Regions from separate parts of the Homo sapiens genome. Here all the other regions are linked to region 3. The links are contacts of gene promoters, found by promoter capture Hi-C in blood cells and fetal thymus (Javierre and others, 2016). All regions are on one chromosome and are shown on one strand. Each heading gives the region's core, a stretch centred on a gene start or on the middle of the fragment in contact. The rest is flanking DNA. Distances are from core to core; before and after follow the strand shown.

What was found. The method cuts DNA at HindIII sites, captures the fragments that hold promoters and counts their contacts. A CHiCAGO score of 5 or more calls a contact.
Region 1: a contact is called between a fragment that was not itself captured here and the fragment with the promoter of ID4 in region 3, in 1 of 17 cell types (endothelial precursors). The highest score is 6.3, in endothelial precursors.
Region 2: a fragment that was not itself captured here is called in contact with the fragment with the promoter of ID4 in region 3 in 6 of 17 cell types (erythroblasts, endothelial precursors, M0 macrophages and 3 more); the score reaches 7.1 in erythroblasts.
Region 4: a contact is called between a fragment that was not itself captured here and the fragment with the promoter of ID4 in region 3, in 1 of 17 cell types (M0 macrophages). The highest score is 5.3, in M0 macrophages.
Region 5: a fragment that was not itself captured here is called in contact with the fragment with the promoter of ID4 in region 3 in 1 of 17 cell types (endothelial precursors); the score reaches 6.5 in endothelial precursors.
Region 6: a contact is called between a fragment that was not itself captured here and the fragment with the promoter of ID4 in region 3, in 1 of 17 cell types (endothelial precursors). The highest score is 7.1, in endothelial precursors.

What each region holds. Positions count from the first base shown.
Region 1 is chr6:18,575,286-18,579,183 of GRCh38, forward strand. All of the region lies in intron 3 of MIR548A1HG (MIR548A1 host gene), which reads left to right. Among named protein-coding and RNA genes, the nearest start is that of MIR548A1, 5.5 kb to the left of the region's middle. The HindIII fragment of the contact is 2,005 bases long and covers 612-2,616 here.
Region 2 is chr6:18,593,015-18,597,074 of GRCh38, forward strand. The region is part of intron 4 of MIR548A1HG (MIR548A1 host gene); the gene reads left to right. Among named protein-coding and RNA genes, the nearest start is that of MIR548A1, 23 kb to the left of the region's middle. The HindIII fragment of the contact is 4,262 bases long and covers 1-4,060 here.
Region 3 is chr6:19,834,643-19,838,682 of GRCh38, forward strand. It overlaps ID4 (inhibitor of DNA binding 4), which reads left to right and starts at 2,728. Exons shown (of 3, transcript NM_001546.4): 1 at 2,728-3,553; 2 at 3,942-4,000. The coding sequence starts at 3,113. The coding sequence ends at 3,986. The HindIII fragment of the contact is 2,827 bases long and covers 2,021-4,040 here.
Region 4 is chr6:18,611,296-18,614,961 of GRCh38, forward strand. The region is part of intron 4 of MIR548A1HG (MIR548A1 host gene); the gene reads left to right. Among named protein-coding and RNA genes, the nearest start is that of MIR548A1, 41 kb to the left of the region's middle. The HindIII fragment of the contact is 4,543 bases long and covers 59-3,666 here.
Region 5 is chr6:18,538,383-18,542,266 of GRCh38, forward strand. All of the region lies in intron 3 of MIR548A1HG (MIR548A1 host gene), which reads left to right. Among named protein-coding and RNA genes, the nearest start is that of MIR548A1HG, 18 kb to the left of the region's middle. The HindIII fragment of the contact is 2,520 bases long and covers 387-2,906 here.
Region 6 is chr6:18,517,228-18,521,362 of GRCh38, forward strand. LOC105374955 (a long non-coding RNA gene) reads left to right here. Exons shown (of 4, transcript XR_926549.3): 4 at 158-193. Among named protein-coding and RNA genes, the nearest start is that of MIR548A1HG, 3.5 kb to the right of the region's middle. The HindIII fragment of the contact is 916 bases long and covers 1,746-2,661 here.

The DNA.
Region 1 (3,898 bases), core at 364-2,863, 1.3 Mb before region 3:
TAGAGCAGTTTGCAAATATTTTCTCCCATCCTTTGGGTTGGCTTTTCACTTTGTTGATTGTTTCCTTTGCTGTGCAGAAGCTTTTTAACTTGATGTAATCCCATTTGACCATTTTTGCTTTGGTTGCCTGTGCAACCAAACTAATGTCCTGGAGATTTTCCTCAAATTTTTTTTGTAGTGGTTTCATAGTCTGAGGCCTTAGTTTTAAGTCCTTAATCCACTTTGATTTGATTTTTGTTCACAGCGAGAGATAGGGGTCTAGTGTTTATTCTTCTACATGTAGATATTCAGCTTTCCCAGCATCATTTCATGAAGAGACTGTTTTCTCCCCAGTGTATATGTTCTTGGCACCTTTGTCCAAAATGAGTTCACTGTAGGTGTGTGGATTTGATTCTGGGTTCTCTATTCTGTTCCATTGGTCTCTGTGTTTTTATGCCAGTATATGCTGTTTTGGTGACTATAGGTGTGTAGTATAATTTGAAGTCAGCTAATGTGATTCCTCCAGCTTTGTTCTTTTGAGCATTAAAGGCAAAGAAAATGTGGTTGCACAGAGGCATCATTTTTAAAGGAAATAGTCTGTTGTAACAGAGGAGGATGCCCATTATCTGTGAAGCTTAGAACACTGGATGTCCTCAGTCCTTCCCTTCTGTGCACTAGAATTCTTTGTCTAGCTGGTTAAGGAAAATAAAACTCATTCAAATATGAGTAAACAAAAAAGAGCTGGCATAGCATTTATACAGAGATCTATTAAATTGTGGAAAACAATAGAAAAACGTTCCTATAGAAGAACGAAATGCACCAGAAAGCTATTGCCAAGATGCAGATAAAACTTGTAACTTAACATCCCATGAATTAAAAATAAAAAACTTAATGGAGTAATAACTGTTATTATTATTTTTAAATTAAATTAAATGTAATTTAATTTTAAGTTCCGGGATACCTGTGCAGGACATGCAGGTTTGTTACATAGGTAAATGTGTGCCATAGTGGTTTTCTGCACCTGTCAACCCATCACCTAGGTATTAAGCCCCACATGCATTAACTATTTATCCTGATGCTCTCTCCCCAACCCGCCCCACAGACAGGCCCCAGTGTGTGTTGTTCCTCTCCTTGTGTCCATGTGTTCTCATTGTTCAGCTCCCACTTATAAGTGAGAACATGCAGTGTTTGGTTTTCTGTCCCTGTGTTAGTTTGCTGACGATAATGGCTTTCAGCTTCATCCATGTCCCTGCAAAGAACATGATCTCATTCCTTTTTATGGCTGTATAGTATTCCATGGTGTATATGTACCACATTTTCTTGATCCAGTCTATCATTGATGAGCATTTGGGTGGATTACGTGTCTTTGCTATTGTGACTAGTGTGGCAGTGAACATATGTGTGCATGTATCTTTATAATAAAATGATTTATATTCCTTTGGGTATATACCTAGTAATGGGATTGCTGGGTCAAATAGTATTTTTGGTTCTAGGTCTTTGAGGAATTGCCATACAATAACAGTTATTTTAATGAAAGTATACAAAGCAGAAATATGAGGACTCAGGGCTGGACAACAGAAAATGAGGAACAAATTAAAGGAGAAGGTAAAATGGGATTTGGTAGAAACCATGAAAGAAATAAAAGTACAAATCAAAATTATTTCAGAAGTAAAGACTAATAAATTAGATTCAGCACAAGGAAGAGTAGACACCATTGAAAGTACAGTGAGGGACAAAGGAGGTAGACATGAAATGAACGAGAAATACAGAGATAAAGAGGATTAGAGTCAAAATTATAGGAATAAAGTACGAGCAAAGGAGATCAAATACATTCACATAGAGTCTACCAAGAGAAAACCGAAACAAAAAAACAGAACAAATATTTAAAAATACAATATTTAAAAATACAATTCAAGAAAACTTTTCAAATATAAAATAAGGCATGAATCTACGTATTTAAAGAGCTTATAATGGACCAGAAAATTGCTCTAGAGAAGTCAAGACAAATCCTAAAATGATTAGAATAAAGAATGAATATTTTGAATGAGCCTGTAAAAATATCAAGTCACTTATGATGGGATGAAGTTGGGCAGGAGTCGGACTTCTTTAAAGATATGAATCTACCCTTAGAAGATTTTTTTTTTTAAAGAATGAGCCAAAGATTTTATATGTGGTTAAAATATCTTTTACATCTGAAAGATTCTAGAAAAACAGATTTCAATGTGCAAGAACACAGGAGACATTATTCATGTCAGCCCATTTTGAGGAAATGATTAGAGGAGGAACTCCCGCCAACCAAGCAACGGCTGGGGAAATGTCAGTGAAACTGGCAGTGAGAATTAAGGCAGTAGATTTAAGTCCCAAAGCAAAGAAGGGGAAAATCCAAGGGGCAAAGTCTGAAAGCAGTGAAGGGAGTAAGCCCCAGCATATATCTGAAAGGGCCAAACCTTGATTGGCAATGACATGCCTCCTTCATTGGACAAAAGGAAGTAGGAAAAGCTGATTAGATGAAGGAAGACAGTTTCTATTTTCTCTGTGATGTAAAGGTTAAGTCTGTTCACCAAAATAAGGGGCTAGGACTGGGGTAAGGGTCAGCAATGTAAAGAAAAAAAATGTGTGGAAGAGAGTGAGAGATCAAGCTTCCAGAGAATTATAGTAGAAATATGTATAAGCAGACTTTGTTGCTTAAAGAAAATCTGCAATGAATCTCTTAGTTATAGCATACTATTTATTATGAGGTATTTGAATTTATTTATCCTGTAAATTGGATGTTGAATAGTGTGCAGAAGTTTGAAGTAGAATTGTATGTTATTTTGCATCTGTTGATATATTTCTTTCCATTTTTAAGTGCAAATCCATTCACTTAGTTTCATTTTTCTACTGTATTACAATGCACTGAGGATAAGGGATATCTTTTCATGGCACCCAACTCAGTACTCTGGTCACTTCATGTGTTCATTCAATAAATATTTGGTAAATTAATAAATGAAACACAACTATAATATTTCATTCTGCTTAATATTTATTTTCTAACACTCGTCTTTAAAGATCCACATGAAATTAGTCTTACTTTTAATAATAATTTAATTTTCAGGCTCCGAGAAAGTAATATATAAACTTGAAATTCCTGGTGAAGGTTAGAATAAAAATTGCAATGAAATTATAAATGTTAAGCTGCATAAGCTTCTCACTTGATTCATTTGATGGATTAAGGTATATATATGTCTCAATATCCCTCGTCTGGTTTTTTTTGTTTGTTTGTTTGTTTTGACAAGAGTCTCACTCTGTTGCCCAGGCTGGAGTGCAGAGTGCAATCTCAGCTTACTGCAACATTTGCCTCCCAGGTTCAAGTGATTCTCATGCCTCAGCCTACCAAGTATCTGGGACTACAGGCACATGCTACCTTGCTCGGCTAATTTTTGTATGTTTAGTAAAGGAGGGGGTTTTGCCATGTTGGCCAGGCTGGACTCGAACTCCTGACCTCAAGTGATCCGCCCACCTCGGCCTCCCTAAGTGCTGGGATTACAGGCACGAGCCAGCACACTTGGCCTGAATTTTTAAATAAAACAAAAAGTCATGTATGGACTTTATATACAAAAAGTATATGAAGCACTGTGTTCATATAAGAATTGTTCCAGATAAGCCAGCCAGGGAGGGATTCAGTAGCAGCTACGAATTAAAAAAGGCCATTTGCCTGGTAATTTCAGGATGGTTAAACAATCAAGCACCACACAACTGTAGGACTACACTATCCAAGGGTGAGAATAAGAATTATTTTCTCTGGGACCTTTAGATGAACTAAGATTGAATTGTTTGCTTACTGGTGTGGGCAAAGCATTTCCAAGTCTTCTTTTCTAGTTTCCCACAGACCCGAAGAAGATTTTCCAAAGATATTCTCTCAATCCAATTGCAATCAAGC
Region 2 (4,060 bases), core at 714-3,213, 1.2 Mb before region 3:
ATTTGAACGTCTGTTGCATGCACAGTATGGGCTTTCTTCTGAATCAGGCTTTTTCACCCTGACTTTGTTCTTCTTTTTTTTTTTTTTTTTTGAGATGGAGTCTTGCTTTGTTGCCCAGACTGTAGTGCAGTGGCATGATCTCGGCTCACTGCGACCTCAACCTCCCGGGTTCAAGTGATTCTCCTGCCTCAGCCTCCTGGGTAGGTAGGATTACAGGCACATGCCACCACGCCTGGATAATTTTTGTATTTTTAGTTGACATGGGGTTTTGCCATGTTGGTCAGGCTGGTCTTGAACTCCTGACCTCAGGTGATCCACCTGCCTCAGCCTCCCAAAGTGCTAGTATTACAGGCATGAGCCACCACACCTGGCCTGTTCTTTGTTTTAAGCAGTGGCTACAGAACACTATACAAATAGATGGAAACATTCAGCTTGATTCCAAAATTACTTGTCCATTCTCACTTCCCATTATTCCCTTTCAAGCAGGATTATTTTTTCCTGTCTATGACTCTCAAATTATCGTCTGTGAATTGGAGCCTTTGCTCACATGGTTAACTCTGTCTGGAAGGTCTTCCTCCAACTTTGCATGTTTAAGTTTCTAAACATTTTACAGTGATCAGCTACTAGCCCACCTTCTCCATGAAATCCTTCTGGATGTTTGTAGCTGGAGATACACTCTCCCTTCTTTGCACCCCTACATCTATTCAATAGTATGTTGTGCCAATAGTGTTTATGTCTTGGTGGACCTAGGCTGCCACATTTTTGGAGGCAGGACTTTGCTTCCTTGAGGTTGGTTTCCAACCAAGAACCCTCTTAGAGAAGTTGCTCAAAAAGGTTTATTCAGGCCAGGTGCAGTGGCTCATGCCTGTAATCCCAGCACTTTGGGAGGCTGAGGCTGGTGGATCACCTGAGGTCAGGAGTACCAGACCAGCCTGGCCAACATGGTGAAACTCCGTCTCTACTGAAAATACAGAAATTAGCCGGCGTAGTGGCAGGCGCCTGTAGTCCCAGCTACTTGAGAGGCTGAGGCAGGAGAATCACTTAAACCTGGGAGGTGGAGGTTGCAGTGAGCTGAGATCAGGCCACTGCACTCCAGCCTGGGTGACAGAGCCAGACTCCATCTCAAAAAAAAGAAAAAAAAAAAAAGAAAAAAAGAAGCAGATGTGTTTGTAGGTGCATGTCTGTGCTTTGGAGAAAACTTAAGTTGAAGTTTTGGAAACTGGTTTGAAAAATAACAGTAACCTCATAGTATATGTAGTCAATTATTTCATGCAAAGTATTCTATGTCCTGGGAATAGATGTCTTGGTGTTCTCTAAAACCTGAGAGATATGTCGCCCCTCTAAGTTTTGCTTCAATTCAAATTTCCTAGAGTTACAGCTAGGCCCCTCAGGAGCTGACTCATGATTGCTGTTCACCTTTATTAATTTTTCTGGCACTGAAACATGTACTTTGAGTTTTTTTTTTGTTTCTAAAAGTACATAGTCACATCAGAGAACTTTCTCCGACTTCTTTCCCCTCAGTATCCTCTGTTCCAAAGTATTTTCATAGTGGAAGGTAGCAGTTCTATACCCTCAAAGTTAAATTTAATTGCTATTTCATAAACTTCCAATGCAATTCTCTTTTCTTCTTTGGAAATAGGGGATCTTTATGGCACAAACCTTTCTAGTGATTAGCAAAATTTCAGTAGTAAATTTACATATAAATAAATTTGATTCAGAAAAGCCATGCACTGCACATAATAAAGTGATTTATAACAGGAAAATCTAAAGAACTAAAACACAGACTCTGCCCTCAAGGAACTCAAGGCAGCAACTATGACAGATACATTTTTAAAAAAGAAACATAGTCCTGTGTCATATGTATACAATATAGCTATTAATAAAGAATATAAAAAATGAAGCATTTAAGAGTCTCACAAGAATATTGTCATAATTAGTGAGATACTGTGGAGACACCTTCATGAAACTGAAGGTCCATTTCTGTTTAATGGGGATATCAATGGTCATTGCATAGTAGGCCTCTTTTATGAAATAAATAAGTTAACAGGGCTAAGGCCTTTAAATACTGGCTGGTACATGTTAAGCTGTCAATATGTGCTAGCTACTTTCAATGGTCATTTCTTGTTGCTATGAGCTATTTCAAAGCTCTTCATAAATAGATGATAATGCCACCATTTCCCAAGTAGGGAGAAAGACTTGGTAATAATAGTTATTCAAACTATATAGAATACGTTGCAATAAAGGATTATGCCACCTAGAACTGTGGAGTTATCACTATTGAGAAAAAGAATTCCGGGTCTTTTTTTTTTCCCCCATTACAACTCAACTAAAAAAAGAGACCCTTAGTGTAAAACATGTAGCCTGCACACAAAAACATGTCTGATTGACTTTCAAAGACTCACATAAATTAAACATCTCTTGGATAACATCAAACCTAACCAGTTAGTTCCCAGGTCTCTATATAAATTGCCACATAACTTTGTGCCAAAATGAATGATGGTGGCTGTGTCTCCTGGATGACCAAAATCAGACTTAAGGAGTGAAAAAATAAACTGAGCACATTCTTTATTGCCACATCAACAAAATGAAACAAAATGATTACTTATTTTTGGGGGGTTATGTTGATGACAGATATTGTAGGCATATCCACTCACTCTCAATTTATTTTTAAACACCCAGCACAGTCGGGGTTACACAGTGAGGAAAAGTCCAGCTGAGTGACCTCGGAACAGTTGCTACCAATGCCAGACATCAATTTCACCCTCTTAGATCAGAATATACCTCTCTTGTTCCTTCCTGAACTAAAAAGCTACCACCTAAAGAACGTAATTATATTGTGGATACAATGATTTGGCATTCATTTCAAAGTTTCTTTTAAAGGAATAGTTTAAAGTGTGTGTGTTACAAAGTGCAGAGCATTGCTCAATGTTGATTTGTCAAACGATGACAATTTAGCCCTTGAAACAAACGTTTCCCAAAATAACAGCATTTGGGAAACTTTGAGCTCTATTTCAGTCCTTTCAGAGAAACTGAGAGGTCTTTCACATTCTGAAGGCAGAACACTGAGTAATAGAAGAAACGAGAAGTCCTCTGTCTCCATCCCTCTGCCTGGGGACCCACTGGACTATTATTAGCATGGGATACAAAATAGATTTGGTAAATATTGGAAAAGTCTTGCCAAGCAGCGTCTCAAAGACATATGGTCTTTTGTAAGTGCCATGATCATTATAAACAAGCAAGATGTTCTAATTAAGGAAAAGTCTTTGTAAGGCAACTTGTTTTACAACTTAGCATTGAGGTTCCAAATTAGATAGGCAAAACTTTGGGGGTTGGGTAACCCCTATTCCTTCTTCCAGGCGGACTCTTTAAGACTGAACCAGAAAGCTGCCATCTCTACTTTGACCACTAGAGGGAGGGCAACTACGTGAAATTGCTCAGCGAGGAGGCGGTTTCTCCAATCCACGCAGTCACCCTTCCCTTCTCTCCTCTGTCTTCCCAACAAATCAACCAGCGGTAGAAAAAGATCTTTAGCTTTTTGAGAGAAGGAGAATGTAGGGAATGTGTTTCATCAATGCATATCAGCCCTCTCTTTCAACTTTAGTTGGGGTTATAGTGTGGGTATTACTTTTTCATTTTTACAAACCTCTCTAAACAAAGTACAGATTTGGTGGAATGAGGGAATAAATGGCCAGTCTTCTGAGTCCTGTCTTGTGGAGTGTGCCTGGATTTTCTACTATAAAATGATCTCTTTTGGGTTGTCATTAATCTTTATAATGATTTCATGGGATAAAGGTTGGACTAGAAGAACTTTGATAACTCTTGCAAGCCCAAAATTCTGATTCTGTATCCTTCAACTGGGGTATGAACTTGTCAAGGGTAAGTAAGTAAGTAAGGGTAAGTAAGTATAAGTAGGTGTTACTTATAACACCTACTGCTAAGGCCAATCCCTTATCAGATGCTCACTAAGGAGTCAATGATTGATGAGACTGGTCGGTTTATATGATTACTTGCCATCTAGAAGCACTCATAAAGAATGGGACATAGTTTTTATGCTCAAGAT
Region 3 (4,040 bases), core at 1,478-3,977:
GTAAAAGAGTCACCAACAGACTAAGTTACCTTCTCTGCACAGTAGAAATAACATAGCTTGTAAGGTTTATCCAAAATCTGAGTGATAATTGGGTAAACTGTTTTGAATTATCAGTGCCAGGAATCTTCCATGATTGCAGCTTTGATGTCATGTAAGTGTCTATGTCTAAGAATACAAAAACATACATTGCATAGCCCCTAGTACTCTCTGGTTTCATGGACCAAAACGTGCAGGATTGTATTCCTTATTCCCATAGTATATGGTAGCACTTTAATTTTTTAATGTCTTCATGCCTTCCAACCTTCAAAACAAGGAGCACAGTAACTGCCTCTGCCTACTCTGCTAGCAGGATTTACGGATCACATCTTTCCTGGGTATTCTTGATCTTGTGGCTGAGGTACATTCCTTTGAAACCACCTCTTCCACCCCACCCCACACAGAGTAACTCAGTCTTTCTAACTTTAAGCCAGTCACACAGAGCATCTCCAACAAAACCTGAAACTTAGGCATTTGGCGCTTGTCACACCCAAGGCATGGCTTTCTGAGATTTAGCAAATTCCAAAAAGGTCGATATGATTCTTCCTTTGTGTTACGTATTCAAAACTTAAATTTTAATTTTAATCGTTAGGATATGTAAAATGTTTAAATGTAAGTGTGTCCTGGGCATATTAGCATAGTTTTATTTTGCCAAACAGAGGAAAGTCTTGGGTTTTGAATTTGGAAGCAAATTTTAAACTCTAGGAAAGAGAAAGATCAATGGAACAAAACATCTGTACATATATCCATTTATTATTATCGTCTGTGCTCATATGACTGGCTCCAAGATAATAGCTTACAACCAGTAGTGCTGGCTTCACCGACTTCCCATTTAAAATTACAACATTTTCTCTGTATTTGCATTAATTTAATGATGTATATGACTATGCCTGTCTTTAGAAGAAAGCCCTTCTGAGTTTCATAATTCTGATTTTCTCGATTAATGTGTATGTAGACCATCTACGTATGCACATAAATAAATGAGAATGGCACTTGTTTCCAAACAATTATTAGAAGCAGTAACATACAAGGATTAGGGGAGAGGAGGGTTATTGCATCTACCTGTGAAACCAGAATTAAATAGTTGCTCCTCATTTCATCAGGAGAAAGGAATGTGCTCTGGGGAATAGTGCGATAGTCATAAAGCACTGACATAGCTAAACAAAATATCTGCCTGGTGCAGGTATTTCAGTTCTGGGAATGGATGTAGAAAAAGTCCATATAGGGGTAGACAGGAAGAAATGAGGTCCATGTCTCTTTCTTTCAATTATCTATGAAAATGAAGACACCAATCCATGTCATGTACACGAATGAAGAAAATTCTTGGGTTAATTCATCTCCAAGCGTGTCTAAAGGTGGGAGGGTTTGTAGAGTGAAGGCACTCAAAATTCATTTCCCCATTGTCTGAGAATTTTTATGCACCTTTCTCATCTGAAGGGCTCAATTTTTTCTTGAAGGGTACACACAATGCTCCACCAAAGCTCATTGTGCAATTTTATTTTGAACCCTTGAAGGACAGCTTTTCTCTAAGAAATCTAACACAAAAACGCCCTTAATTAACAGGCTTTTTTTTGCAGGGTGGGGCCCAAGCGGGATCCCAGAGACTGGAAGTGTGAATTTTAATGCTTTGCTGTCAAAGGAGGCGACTCTGGACATTCTCATCACCTTATTTAAAGCGGGGTACGCTGACTAATACGTGAAGCTGTGCATTAATGGCCTAAATTAAGTTACAGGTATGAATTTTACATAAAACAGATTAATATTATATGTCATAATGGAATTTTAAATATTCCGTGTCCATGCATTTTTAATCTTTACGTGCTCTAATTGAATGCGCAAGGCAACTGCATTTCTTGAGCCCACTTTTGCATTTAGATGGGGTAAAAGAACCCCCCCCACGTTTTTGTTTTATTTATATTCCCTTCACCAAAAACCTGCATTCGATTCGGCATTCTTTTCCTTCTTTTTTTTTCTACTTTTGCTAAGCTTTAGCATTTTTTAAAAAGAAAACGGAAAGGCTACACATTCCATTCCATCATTATGGTTTCGGCAAATGTGAAAAGGCGAATAATGAAACGGAGGAGGGAAATATAGAACAGAATGAACGTGCCTTCTTGAACAGCGCGTCTTTCTTAAGGCACTGGAATCCCACGGATGGAGTGATGGGTGGCGGAGGGTCCCTGGGCGCCGTGCTATTAGGAGTGGCAGGGTATCCGCGAGCAGGGCCCAGGCGCTCCCTCAGCAGCCTAGTCGGGATAAGGGGGGCGGTGGAGAGTGAATTCCGGCCGCACATTCCCGCAGTTCTTCGCAGGAACTTCGCTCTCTCTTTTCCCCTCCCTTGGGCACACATCAGCCTGGCCCGACTCCCACTCAGCTCTCTTTTCTCAGAACCCCGACCCACAGCGTTGACGGAATGGAGTGCCCTTCCCATTGGCCCGAGCGTCATTCCCCGAGGTGGCACTGCCCGCCTGATTGGCTGGCCACTCCAGACCCCCCGCCCACTCCTCCACTCGGGTAGCCGGACTCCCCGCCCCCCAGCACCGCCCGGAGCCCCCGCCCTCGCCTCTCCCTCCGCGCCCCCGCCCGCGCGCCCAGCGGGCTCCGCTCGGCTCGCGCTGCGACCCGGCCCGCGCGCTGGTCCCGCCCCCGGGGCGCACGGCTCTATAAATACAGCTGCGCGGCGGGCCGGGCGAGAGCGTAGTGGAGGAGGCGCGGTTGTGAGTAGTACCGGGAGTGGGGTGATCCCGGGCTAGGGGAGCGCGGCGGCCGCGATCGGGCTTAGTCGGAGCTCCGAAGGGAGTGACTAGGACACCCGGGTGGGCTACTTTTCTTCCGGTGCTTTTGCTTTTTTTTTCCTTTGGGCTCGGGCTGAGTGTCGCCCACTGAGCAAAGATTCCCTCGTAAAACCCAGAGCGACCCTCCCGTCAATTGTTGGGCTCGGGAGTGTCGCGGTGCCCCGAGCGCGCCGGGCGCGGAGGCAAAGGGAGCGGAGCCGGCCGCGGACGGGGCCCGGAGCTTGCCTGCCTCCCTCGCTCGCCCCAGCGGGTTCGCTCGCGTAGAGCGCAGGGCGCGCGCGATGAAGGCGGTGAGCCCGGTGCGCCCCTCGGGCCGCAAGGCGCCGTCGGGCTGCGGCGGCGGGGAGCTGGCGCTGCGCTGCCTGGCCGAGCACGGCCACAGCCTGGGTGGCTCCGCAGCCGCGGCGGCGGCGGCGGCGGCAGCGCGCTGTAAGGCGGCCGAGGCGGCGGCCGACGAGCCGGCGCTGTGCCTGCAGTGCGATATGAACGACTGCTATAGCCGCCTGCGGAGGCTGGTGCCCACCATCCCGCCCAACAAGAAAGTCAGCAAAGTGGAGATCCTGCAGCACGTTATCGACTACATCCTGGACCTGCAGCTGGCGCTGGAGACGCACCCGGCCCTGCTGAGGCAGCCACCACCGCCCGCGCCGCCACACCACCCGGCCGGGACCTGTCCAGCCGCGCCGCCGCGGACCCCGCTCACTGCGCTCAACACCGACCCGGTGAGAGGCCGGGCGCCGGCCGTGGGCGGACGCCGCGGGGGATGGGAGGTTGGTGGCGTGGTGGCGGGACGCGGGCGCTCACCGTCCTCCGGGCAGGGGCGGGCCAGGAATGACAGCCCCCTCCCCCTGCTCCTCCGGGCTCCCCCGGGCCGCCAGCAGCCGGCCGGGCTCGGCGAGCGCGGGTCCGGGAGAACGCGCAGGGCGGGACTCGGGGCTGTGGGCGCCCTGGGCTGTCAAGTCCCGCCTGAGCCCGGAGGGGCCCCCCCGGCTACAGGCTGGGGTGGGGGCGTCGGCGCGCCAGCCTGATTTCCGAGGACAATCCAGGACCGTGTCGAGCGCGTTGTTTGCGCCTGCTAACCTTTCCCTTGGTGTTCGGTTGCTGTTCCAGGCCGGCGCGGTGAACAAGCAGGGCGACAGCATTCTGTGCCGCTGAGCCGCGCTGTCCAGGTGAGCGCGCATTTCCCGTCTCGGGTGGCCGGTCACCAGA
Region 4 (3,666 bases), core at 1,080-3,579, 1.2 Mb before region 3:
TTCATATAGCTAGCATTGGGAGATTTCCAGAAGGCTGAAGGATTCAGGGAGATTGTAAAGCTTTCTTCAAAGTCAGGATAAGAAAATGTTCTCTGATTGTTTATCATGATTCTTATGTTTAAAGGGGAAATCTTCGAAGTAAAAGAAGACCCAGTAAGGAGGAAGTCTGGATGTTCAAAATTCTTTCTTTCTGGTATTGCCCAAACCTGCTTTTTGGAAAGGACTGCATATGTTTTCAGGTAGGCAAGGTGCAGTCACTTTGCCCTTCTGACGGAAGATGTTTGAAGGTACTAATGATAGATTTTGATGCGTTTAAAATGGAGAACTTCCCATGAAGAGGGCTGGCTTCAGATCTGTGAGTTGAAAACAAAGCAACACAGGGGAGTAATCAGAGGCCAACCATCTTTCCTGGTTTCTGTGTATGCTTCCTATAGATATCGTAATCAGATTTTTGACAAGCAACTGATAACCTTGGGTAGAGCCTGGCTTTGTGACAAGGTGCTGTTTATTTGGAATTAAAGTTTGGGACCCTAGCCTATTTGTATAAATATATTTCAAAAAAGTGGTGATGTGGACATCTTTCAGAGAATGGTGTACATTTCAGAAAAGGCTTTGGTGTTGAGTTCCCCTCTGACCCTCATGTTGCTGAAATCTCATTTCTCCTCTGCTTTTGGAGGAAAACTCTGGTGCACGCATTCCTGTTCTTATAATTTCTGAGCTAACAGTTTCTGCATATCTGAGACTGGTAAATAGCAACTGCTGAGAAATCAAGAAATGTAGAACTGAAGAAAGTCACTGTCATCGTGCATTTGGGCTGCTACAACAGAATACCTTAGGCTTCATATTATAAAGGACAGACATTTATTGCTCACAGTTCTTTGATCTGTGAAGTCCAAAATCAAGGTGTCAGTAGATTTGGTGTTTAGTGAAGGTCATTCTCTGCAAAGAATCCTCTAGTATTGCTGGAGCAGTTTTGGGCTTTCCTGAAATTTACATTTGTGGATTTCTCTCACGTGTGTGTGTTTTTTTAAATAGAAAAGTCTTTTCGAGTTTCTTTGAGATGATTGGTGAAACTAGAGCCGAAAATGGTATAAGGAGAAATAGATAAAGTGAACCAACTATTGGAAGGTGGGGATGGTAGAGTAAGATAAGTGAAGTGTGTTTTGGGGACTTTCTAGTTCCATTAGTTTTGTTCACAAAACTGAAGGTTAGCATGTTTGTGTGTCCTCGTTGCTAACTTTGTCAAAACTTTGCTTTCTTACTAGCTCTAAAATATAAGGGACTGGTTACTCTTAAAGTTTCTCCTTGCTTGGACAACATCCCCTCTATTATTCTGAAATCACTCTGGGAGTGATTACCAACCACGATAATCATACCCACAGTGAACACTTTCTGATCACTCATTATGTATTAGGTGCTGTTCCAAGCACTTTCCATGCTGTCTCTCACATCATCCCCCCACTTCCTTATGTGTTTGGTGTAAACTCTCATCACTGTCTTATGGATGGAGCATGTGAGGGCTATCAGATAACTTGCCGGGGCTCACATAGCTAATACGTGGTGGAGCTGGGATTTCAACCAATGCACTATCAATAATGTTCCAGAAATTTTTTCTCAGGATATCATTTGATCAGGGTTGTTTGATGACATAGTGAAATGTTGCAACTGATAAGGAGAAAATGAAGTTGGCTAAGTATTTTGTATGGACCATAAATGAATTATAACCTGTGTGCTTGGTCTTCCACTTTCAATGGGTTCTCCTGGCAAATGTGATAAGACGTCTGAGAACAAAGCAGTCATGGAGAAGACAGGAAATCATGATAGGCTGACAGTCATTGTGGAAATAAAACAAATGTTGAGGTGTCCTTAAAGTCTAATCACTAGTCTTATACTCTAAAGGGAAACTTTGATACCAAGCATGAAGAATTTAACCCTCTTCATAATTCCGAATACTGGGCATATAATTTGTGTGGGGATTACAACCTGAATCTTCTTAGGTACCTCCGGTTTCTGACACAGCAGCAGTCTTTGAATCACGGAGTGTTTTTTCCCTGCCGCTTAATCTTTGTAGCAGCCAATTTATAGACGGGAGGAGTTTTTACTTTATCTGTTCCAACCACACTTCCACTTTATACTTTTGTACTGGGAAGCAGCTTTGGCTGTCTGTGGCTCAGTGTAGGTGTGCCAGTGTGAGTGCACTTTCCTGTGTGTGTATCTGGATATTCCTAAAGATGTTGGAAATAATAGTGAACAAGTAAGGGAGGGAGAGGACCTTTATTGTGTAACAAACTGAAGGCACCAAGGAGGCTGCATTTGTTGTGAGTCAAAAGGTTTATACAAAGATTTTCTTAGTAATGTCTAAGATTTTAATAGGGTAATTAATCTTTTTAAATGTTAGTGCCAGATTATGGGATCAGCTATTATCCCTGGCTGCAGAGTGGTCCTTTGTGTGTTGCTATGAACAGGGCTAAGTGAAGAGAATACTCAGGTTGCCAAACAAAGATATGGCTGCAGCTAGCTTGTTTAGGTTTTTAAATGCATTTTCTTGTGCAGTTAAAAGAACTCCTGTTTCCGTGGGGCTATCATTGCCCTTTAATAGCCATTGAGTTGAGGGGAGAGATAGAGGAATAAAATACAGGCTTTTTGCTTTTTACTTCTTAACAACCAATTATTATTATTTTTAAAATAATGATGGGTATATTCATTCGAGACCTTATTTTAAGTCAGGAGAAACAATTTAACAGAAAGAAAGCTCTAAAAGAATAGGAGTGAAAGGTTTTCATCTGATTTAAAAGTTTGGCCTGTTTCTCTTTCCTTAACCTAAGTTTAGTGAAAATTGCCAAGCAATCCAGCAAGCCAACAAAAATGAAAGGGAAAACACAGCAGCTAATGAGACTTGGCTGTGGCCTTTAAGCAAGAGTGATTATTTAACATAGCTTATCAAAATATTGATTAAAAATAGATGGCTTGTTTCTTTCAAGTTTCGATACATATGAAAGAAAAAAAGTTCAGAACATAGGGCATCATGTAAAAACCCTGTAGGTATAATGATATTGTTGCAGCCCAGCCATGACCTCTGCTCTGGCTTTGCTTAAACTACCCCTTGGCTTCGACTTGGATTTCTGCTCTCGCTGTCTAAACGAGGCAGTTTGTCAGAACCACATGTCTATTTGTTTGGCAATTGATTGTAGTTGCTGCTTATTTTCCAAACTGTTCCAACTATTTTGTTTACATGAACTATTGTGATTCTCAGCTGCTAAATACTGCTGTAGACAAGATTTCTCTTTTGAATTGTAGCTCTTCCCCTGTCCATGGGGCCACACCCTTTGTGTTAGCTCCTGTATTGTAACCAGCTGTGTACCATAGGAAAGATTCCTAGGTTTGTTCTTTCTTGCTCCTTTCCCTTCCTTTCCCTTCCCTTCCTTTCCTTTCCTTTCCTTTCCTTTCCCCTTTCCCCTTTCCCCTTTCTTTTCTTGGAGTCTCACTCTGTCGCCAGGCTGGAGTGCAGTGGTGTGATCTCAGCTCACTGCAACCACCGCCTCCTGGGTTCAAGTGATTTTCCTGCCTCAGCCTCCCAAGTAGCTGGGACTACAGGCACTTGCCACCACACCCAGCTAATTTTTGTATTTTTAGTAGAGACAGGATTTCACCATGTTAGCCAGGATG
Region 5 (3,884 bases), core at 397-2,896, 1.3 Mb before region 3:
TGACCTCAAATGATTCACCCATCTCGGCCTCCCAAAGTGCTATAGCAGCACAATTAATGAATAACTTGGTTATAATGTGCTCAACTGATGGTGAGGATATAGGCAACTTACATATGAGGTGATAGTTTGACTACAATTGTTCATTGCTTAGATCTTCTTTCCCTCCCTCCTTCCCTTCCTCCCTCCCTTCCCTCCCTCCCTTTCTTTGCCTTGCCTCTCTCCTTCCTTCCTTTTTTTTTTTCCTCCTCCTACTCTCTTTCTTCTCCTTTATTGGTACTTTGTGATTTAGACTTCAGAGGGACAAGGACAACCATTGTTGGTTACACAGGATTATTTAATTAAATAAAATATACAGTTTTGAGAATTAATCTGTATAGTTAGGATAAAGCTTCTGTAACAAATAAAGCCCCAGATTTCGGTGATAACACAGTAGAAGTTTATTCCTTGCTCATATAACTGTCTAATGAGGGTGTCTCCTGCTGAAGGAGGCTTTTGTCCATGCAGTAACTCAAGGTCTTCGACTCCTTCTGCCTTGTGGCCTTTCCAGGACCTGGAATCCTCTACTTCCCATTGGTGCAAAGGGAAACCGAGTGTGGAAAAGGAGCCATTCTTAACCAACTTGGCCTGAAAGAGGGAAGCATCACTTCTGTTCTTATTCCATGGGAGAGCTGCCTAGATGGCCCTATGTAGATGATAGAGGGTTTGGGAAATTCTTAGTCTTATGCTGAACAGACACTTTAAGGTGATGATTCTATGCCATGGAAGCAAAGAACAGGTTTGAATGGACACAATTATGAGTCAGACACTATGCTAATTTCTGGAAAAAAAAAAGTAGGCAAATCATCATCCTTTGGGGGGGTGAGAACCACATAACATAGGTACTCAACTAACCAAACATGATATTCAAGTACTAAATTAAGCCATATGTAAGCACAGATGTAGGAGCAAATAATTCACTCAGAAATGAACTCAGGGCAGAAGCTGTTGAAGGAAAGCAGAGAGGAGGAAGGAGAGAGTGTCCGACCTGAGCTAAGGCATGAAGCTCAGAAGATGTCTGATATGTCCAAAGACTGGTGAGCTTCTCGATGTGTCAGATGACCAAAAACTTGGGGATAGATGGGACTAGAATAGAGAGGGCCTTGTGGGCTATGCCTTGTGCAGCAAGAACTAGAATTGAAATGATAATATGTATTGTGAGCTTGAGGCTGCAAATACAGGTCTCCTGACCCCAGTCCTTTTTTTGGATATTTTATTCCATATGTGGAAGGATACTGATTTGTAAAACTCAAAGTCATGTGTGACTTTTTATGATCAAAGGTGTTTGGTCTCTCACTGCATGTTCTCACTTATAAGTAGGAGCTGAACAATGAGAACACATGGATACAGGGAGGGGAACAACACACACTGGGGCCTATCCAGAGGGTAATGGCGGGAAGGGAGAGCATCAGGAAAAATAGCTAATGCATGCTGGGCTTAATACCTAGGTGATGGGTTGATAGGTGCAGCAAACCACCATGGTACACATTTACCTATGTAACAAACCTTCACATCCCACCCTTGTATCCCGGAACTTAAAAAAAAATGTATTTGGTTTCTAAGAACAAAAATATATTCCTGGCAGCCATGTTATTTACTGGGTAAGAATATGTCATCTTATAAAAGAGGCACATTAAAATGTATTAATTACCTCATCTGATTTCAAGGTTAATATTTCATCACATATTTAAGTTTCCTTTCCTTTCCCCCCAATACTTGCGGTAGTGAGTGTGCTTTCTTATCATGTCAGAGAGAGTTTGAAGTTCCAGGTAGCAAAAGAGGCTGAGGTTGTCTCAGTTGTTGCAGATGGAGATAATCTTGCACCATTCTGAGTAAGCCTGGCCTGGGAGATGGACCAAAAACTGTGTCATCAGAGGATGAAGGTGGGTGACCAGTGGCAGGACATATACATTACCTTCCCCCAAAGTTTTAGTAACCAGAATCAGGGGCCTGGTTACGAGGTGTTGATGTTCCTGTACCCATGGCTTATGCTGATCTATAGCATCATTAATTTTGTAATAAATATTTGCTATCCTTTTTTTTAGGTGATCTCAAGCTAGTTAGCCAATATGATCACTCTTTCCTATACTAATTTATTTTATTTTATTTTTTTTTAGAGACAGAGTCTTGCTCTGTCACTCAGGCTGGAGTGCAGGGGTGCAAATGTAGCTCACTGCAGCCTTACCCTCCTGGGCTCAAGCAATCCTCCTGCCTCAGCCTCCCGAGTAGCTGGGACTGTGGGCATGTGCCTTCATGGCCAGCTAAATTTGAATTTCTGGCCTCAAGTGGTCTTCCTGCCTCGGACTCCCAAAGTATTGGGATTATGGGCATGAGCCACCACACTGGCCTCTAGTCATTTTTATATAAAGAGAGACCAGCATAGTGAAGTAAATTTATATGCTTTTTGTTAACCTAAGAAATATTTAATGAACATCTATTAAAAATTGAGACTCTATCTGGACCTTGGGGTGGAGAGGAGAGAGAGATAGAAATATGAGTAAACTGAGGTTTTTGCCTACATCTGGTAGAGAAGAATACAGCTGTATATAAATCATTCCTAATACCACAAAGAGTGTGAATGTTTCGTAAGAAGGAGTGAATAGAAGGGAAAAATTGTAGCTGGAGAAAATCAGGAAAGGCTTAATGGAGTAGGTGCCCTGGGAACTGGGTCTGAACTTCTGGTGGAAGGATGTTAATCTAGAAAGAGAGGCTGGAACTGGGGCACAGAGATGCATACGTACAGGAGGGAATGTTTATGGATCAGGAGTCAGGGCTGCATTACACGGGGCAGGAGGAGGAGGGAGGAGAGGGCTGTCCAGGATGTTGGCATTGGAACCAGACTGTGTAGGGTCTTGAACACATGGCTAGGAAGCTTGGATCTAAAATGGGAAAGGTCTGCCTCCAAGCTTTCAAGCAAAGAAGGGATTACCCAGATTTTATTGGCAAGGGTTCTGAAGCTTAGAGAAGTTATCAGAGATAGGTCCAAGGTTACCTGGCCAGTTACAGCATAAGGAAGAAGTGGTTCAGAAGAAGTGGCTCATTATGAAATGAATGGGGTTTATGACACTGGTCATAGAGAAGGTTTGAGGACAAAGGCCAGAGGACATGAGCCCTTGGCTTTGTACGAGGACAGCACATTTTTCCCAGTGTAAGTCAGCCAAGTGTGAACACATTTAGGGCTCTTTGAAAAAAGAGATGCCCCCACCCCCTCCAGACCCCCAACACAAAGCTTTGGCTTCTGATTTTTGTTTGTTGTGTTTTTCTTCTGTAAATGCAGGTCCAATTATCCTTACTACTTTGAGCATCAGAGAGAGTTATATGGGTTAGAAGGACTGCTTATAAAATATAAACACAGTGATGATTATCAGAAAAAACCTTTTGAGAGAATGAAGAGGCAAAATTTACTATAACTTCAAATGGATAAGTGCTGTCCAACTGGCATTTTATTTTTTTAAGCTGAAAAATATAGAATAGGAAATGCTGGAAGATTTCCTTTTTAGAACTTGGTAAAAATTATAGCAGATGAACACTAGGCAAAATCAAGGGGGGATTTTGCTCACATATGAAAGTTTATAAGAAATCTAGTTGAGTCTGGTTTCAGTATTTGCTGAAGTTTGTGGCTGTGTCAACAAAGATGGGTTAAAGTAAGCATATTTTAGATCCTAAACAGAGCAGCCTCATAGTCTGGAATAGAGAGTAGCTTTAAAATGCTTTAAAATGGGTTTCCTTTTCTTTCCTTCCAGCTGTGCCTAGAGCTAGGGGAAGATAAACTGGCATGTTCTTTGTTACATAGCAACATCTATGTTGCTATCTCCACTACGCCAGGCTAGGGAGGTGCATAAGAGCAC
Region 6 (4,135 bases), core at 954-3,453, 1.3 Mb before region 3:
GATTTCTGTCACTATAGATTAGTTTGCATTTTTGAGAATTTTATGTGAATGGAATCTTATTTTTTCTAACCTCTTTCTCTCAGAATAATTTTTTAGAGATTCCTCTATGTTGTTTTGTATATTTATAGCTCATTACCTTTTTTTTTATTTGAAACAGGGCCTTGTTCTGTTGCCTCCACCTCCCGGGTTCAAGCAATTCTCCTGCCTCAGCCACCTGAGTAGGTGGGACTACAGGCACGCACCACCACGCCTGGCTAATTTTTGTGTTTTTGGAAGAGACGGGGTTTCACCATGTTGGCCAGGCTGAGCTCATTCCTTTTTATTGCTGAGTAAGAATATGCTACAATTTTTTATCCATTTATCTATTGATGTACATTTGGCTTGTTTCTAGTTTTTGGCTACTACAAGTAAAGCTGCTATGAACAGTCATGTATATATTGTGTGGACATATACTTTCATTTCTCGTGGATAAATAGCTAGGAGTAGAATGGTTAGGTCATATGGTGACTGCATATTTACATTTTAAGAAATTGTTTCTCAAAGAGGTTGAACAATTTTACATTTTCACTAGTAGTGTATGAAATTTCTGGTTGCTCCACATCCTTGAAAACACTTGATATAATCAGTCTTTTCAATTTTAGCCATTCTAGTGGTTATGTAGTGGTGTAGTTGAACATTTTTTTCATGTGCTTATTTGCTATTTGTATATCTTTTTTGAAGTGTTAATTAAAATATTCTGCCCATTTTTAATAAAATTGTGGTGGTGGTGTTAGAGTTTTTAAAAAATGTATTCCAGATATCAGTCCTTTAACAGATACATTATTTGTAAAGATTTTCTCCCAGTCTAGGGTTTCTCATTTCCTTTTTAAAATAGTGTCTTTGGATAAAGTCTAATTTATGGTTTCTTTTTATTCCTGTATCCAAATCTTTGCCAAACTAAGGTCACTATGATTTTTTTTCCTATTGTGCTCTAGAAGTTTTATAATTTTAACTCTTGTATTTAGGCTTATGTTTTATTTTGAGTTAAATTTTGTATATACTAAGCGGTAAGAATCAAGGTTCATTTTTGTGCATATAGATACCAAGTTGTTCCAGAACCATTTATTGAAAAGATTATTCTTTCTCTTTTAAATTGTCCTGGCACCTTTGTCAACAATCCTAAATATGTGGGTCTATGTTCTATTCTAATTCATTTATTGATCTATTTTTATGCGAATACCACACTGTCTTGGTTAATGAAACTTTGTAAAAGCTTTGAAGTTAGGCAGTACGAACCCTCTGGCTCTTTTTTCAAAGTTGTTTTTCCAAAGAATTTTCTACAGAGTCAGTCGTGTTATCTGCAAATAAAGCCAGTTTTATTTCTTCTTTTCAAATCTGGATGCTTTTCAATTTTATTTATTTATTTCCTATTGCATAGAATAAAATCTCCAGCACTGGATACACATGTTCTCTGTCATAAAGAGAGGTTATAATTCTCAACTAGAGGAAAGATTTATGAAATGTTCCTTGGTGTATAGCATTTTAGATTTCAGTTATAGAATGAGATTGTGTGCTCAGGATTACCTGTCTGCAATGCCTGATATTTTCCTCTTGGGCAGGCATCCAACTAGTATCTGAGAGGGAAATCCAGTAGCCAGAAGGAAGGAATCTGCTTTACATTAATTCTCAGGACAATATTATTTGACTATATACAGATAGGATAATGATGACATGATAATTATAGGCAGGAAAGCTATGAAAAATAAAGCTTGAAGTAGGATCTGAACACCTCGTTTTTGAAGGGTATCTCCAAATATTTTATTGGAATACCAGATATATGAATTTCTCTTAAGTTCATAGGCTTCAAACGTTCTAACAAAGCACAGTCCTGAAAAAATAACTTGAGGGGCTTCACCGAAGAAGATATACAAATGGCAAATAAGCACATGAAAAAAATGTTCAACCACACCAAACATTAGGGTAATGCAAAGTAAAATCACAATGAGACATTACTACATACCCACTAGAATGGCTAAAATTAAAAAGACTGACCACATCAAGTGTTTTTAAGGATGTGGAGCAACCAGAAATATCATACACTACTGGTATGTAAAATTGTTCAACCTCTTTGAGAAGTAGTACACATATGCACAGAGTCATATTAAAATGTTACCTATGCAACTGTCCTATACATTAAAGTTATTAAAAGATCTGAACACTTAGGAAAATAGGACTGAATAAGCAATTAAGTATTTTTTTTCTTTTCCTGCAGGTGAAATTTCTCAGGATTAAAAAATTCTCTAAAAACATCCTAAAGGAAATTTTTTTTCAACAATTTTTCTTCTATGAATTCACTTTTCAGTTCACATTTCTGGAGAAAAAAACTCAGTGAAAAATTGATGAAAAATGTTCATCTAAATGGCAAAATATTCTAAGCTAAGCAAAAAGCATTTTTTAGATGCCAGTGATTGAGTTACCAAGGGTGGGTATTGGTTGCGTAGGATGGAGTGAGCCCAGGAGGTCCCGGCTAGGAGAGTATCACTACTGACCCCAACATATGCTGGGATTGTTGGGTTTGCCTAAGAGCAGCGGGGTTTCAGTTTATAGTACCTATCTCTCCCCACCCCAATCCTTTTGTGATCAATAGAATATATTAAAATGACAGCTTGCAAACTATGAAAAAGCTTGCAAACCTCACAGAAGAGAAGTCTTTAAAAACTATTAAAAATTTTAAAGACACAGGGTCTTTCCATGTTGCTTAGGCTGGTCTCAAATTCCTGGGCTTAAGTGATCGTCCTGCTGTGGCCTCTGTGTAGCTGCTGTGCCATTGTGCATGGTGAAGATAAGTTTTTTAAAATTATTATTTTTGTTTTATTATACAAGTAGTATGAGTTCTTTGGGAAATCAATTTAAAAGCATATTTCGCTATCCAAGTAAACATAAAAATATGCACTTTATTTTTATTTTTATTTTTTTTTTGAGATAGAGTCTCACTCTGTTGCTCAGGCTGGAGTACAGTGACGAGATCTCAGCTCACTAGCAAACTCTGCTTCCTGGGTTTAAGCGATTCTCGTGCCTCAGCCTCCGGAGTAGCTGGGATTACAGGCATGTGCCACCACATCTGGCTAATTTTTGTAGTTTTAACAGAGACAGGGTTTCACCATGTTGGCCAGGCTGGTCACGAACTCCTGACTTCAGGTGATCCAACTGCCTCAGCTTCCTAAAGTGCTGGGATTACAGGCAGGAGCCATTGCGCCTGGACTACATATTATTTTTTTTAACGTATAGATATCCATATATTTTCTAAAATATGGGAATCAATATATACGTATAGATTTATCCTTAAACTTGTTTTATAACATACAATTTTCCATATACTTAAATATTCAAAATCACAAATATTAATATTTTATAACATTATTTCATATGTATATAATTATTTAATCAATTCCCTGTATTTAACAATTAGGTTGTTTCCAATTTACAGCATTACCAGGATTGCGGAGATTGATATTTTTGTGTTTATTTAGATTATTTTTCCATAATAAATTCTCAGAAATGAAAATATTGCTGAAGGATCAAAACACTTTTGAGATTTTTGCACATTTTGACAAATTTTGACCTAACAGATTCCTAGTAGCAGTGAGTGAGAGTACTCATTTCATCATATACCTGACAGCAGTGAGTATTATTTTAAAAGACATACATGCCAAGTTGAGGGAATAAAGTGTTATCTCTGCTTCATCTTTCATTTCTTTGATTACCAGTCATGTGGGACTTTTAAAACATAACTGTGTTAATGGTCATTTCTATTTACTCTTTTGTAAATGATCATTCTTTTATTTGATCAATACTTATTGATTGCCCACTATGTGTGAAGCACTGCAGAAGGTGTAACATTCAGCAGCAAATGAGAGAGAGACAGCCCCTGCCCTAATGGAACATAAAGTTTTTTTTTTCTTTTGAGGACAGAGTCTCAGTCTGTTGCCCAGACTGGAGTGCAGTGGCACAATCTCGGCTCACTGCAACCTCTGCTGCCTGGGTTCAAGTGATTCTCGTGCCTCAGCCTCTGGAGTAGCTGGGGTTTCAGGCGTGTGCCACCACATCCGGCTAATTTTTGTATTTTTAGTAGAGACGGGGTTTCAGCAGGAATCAC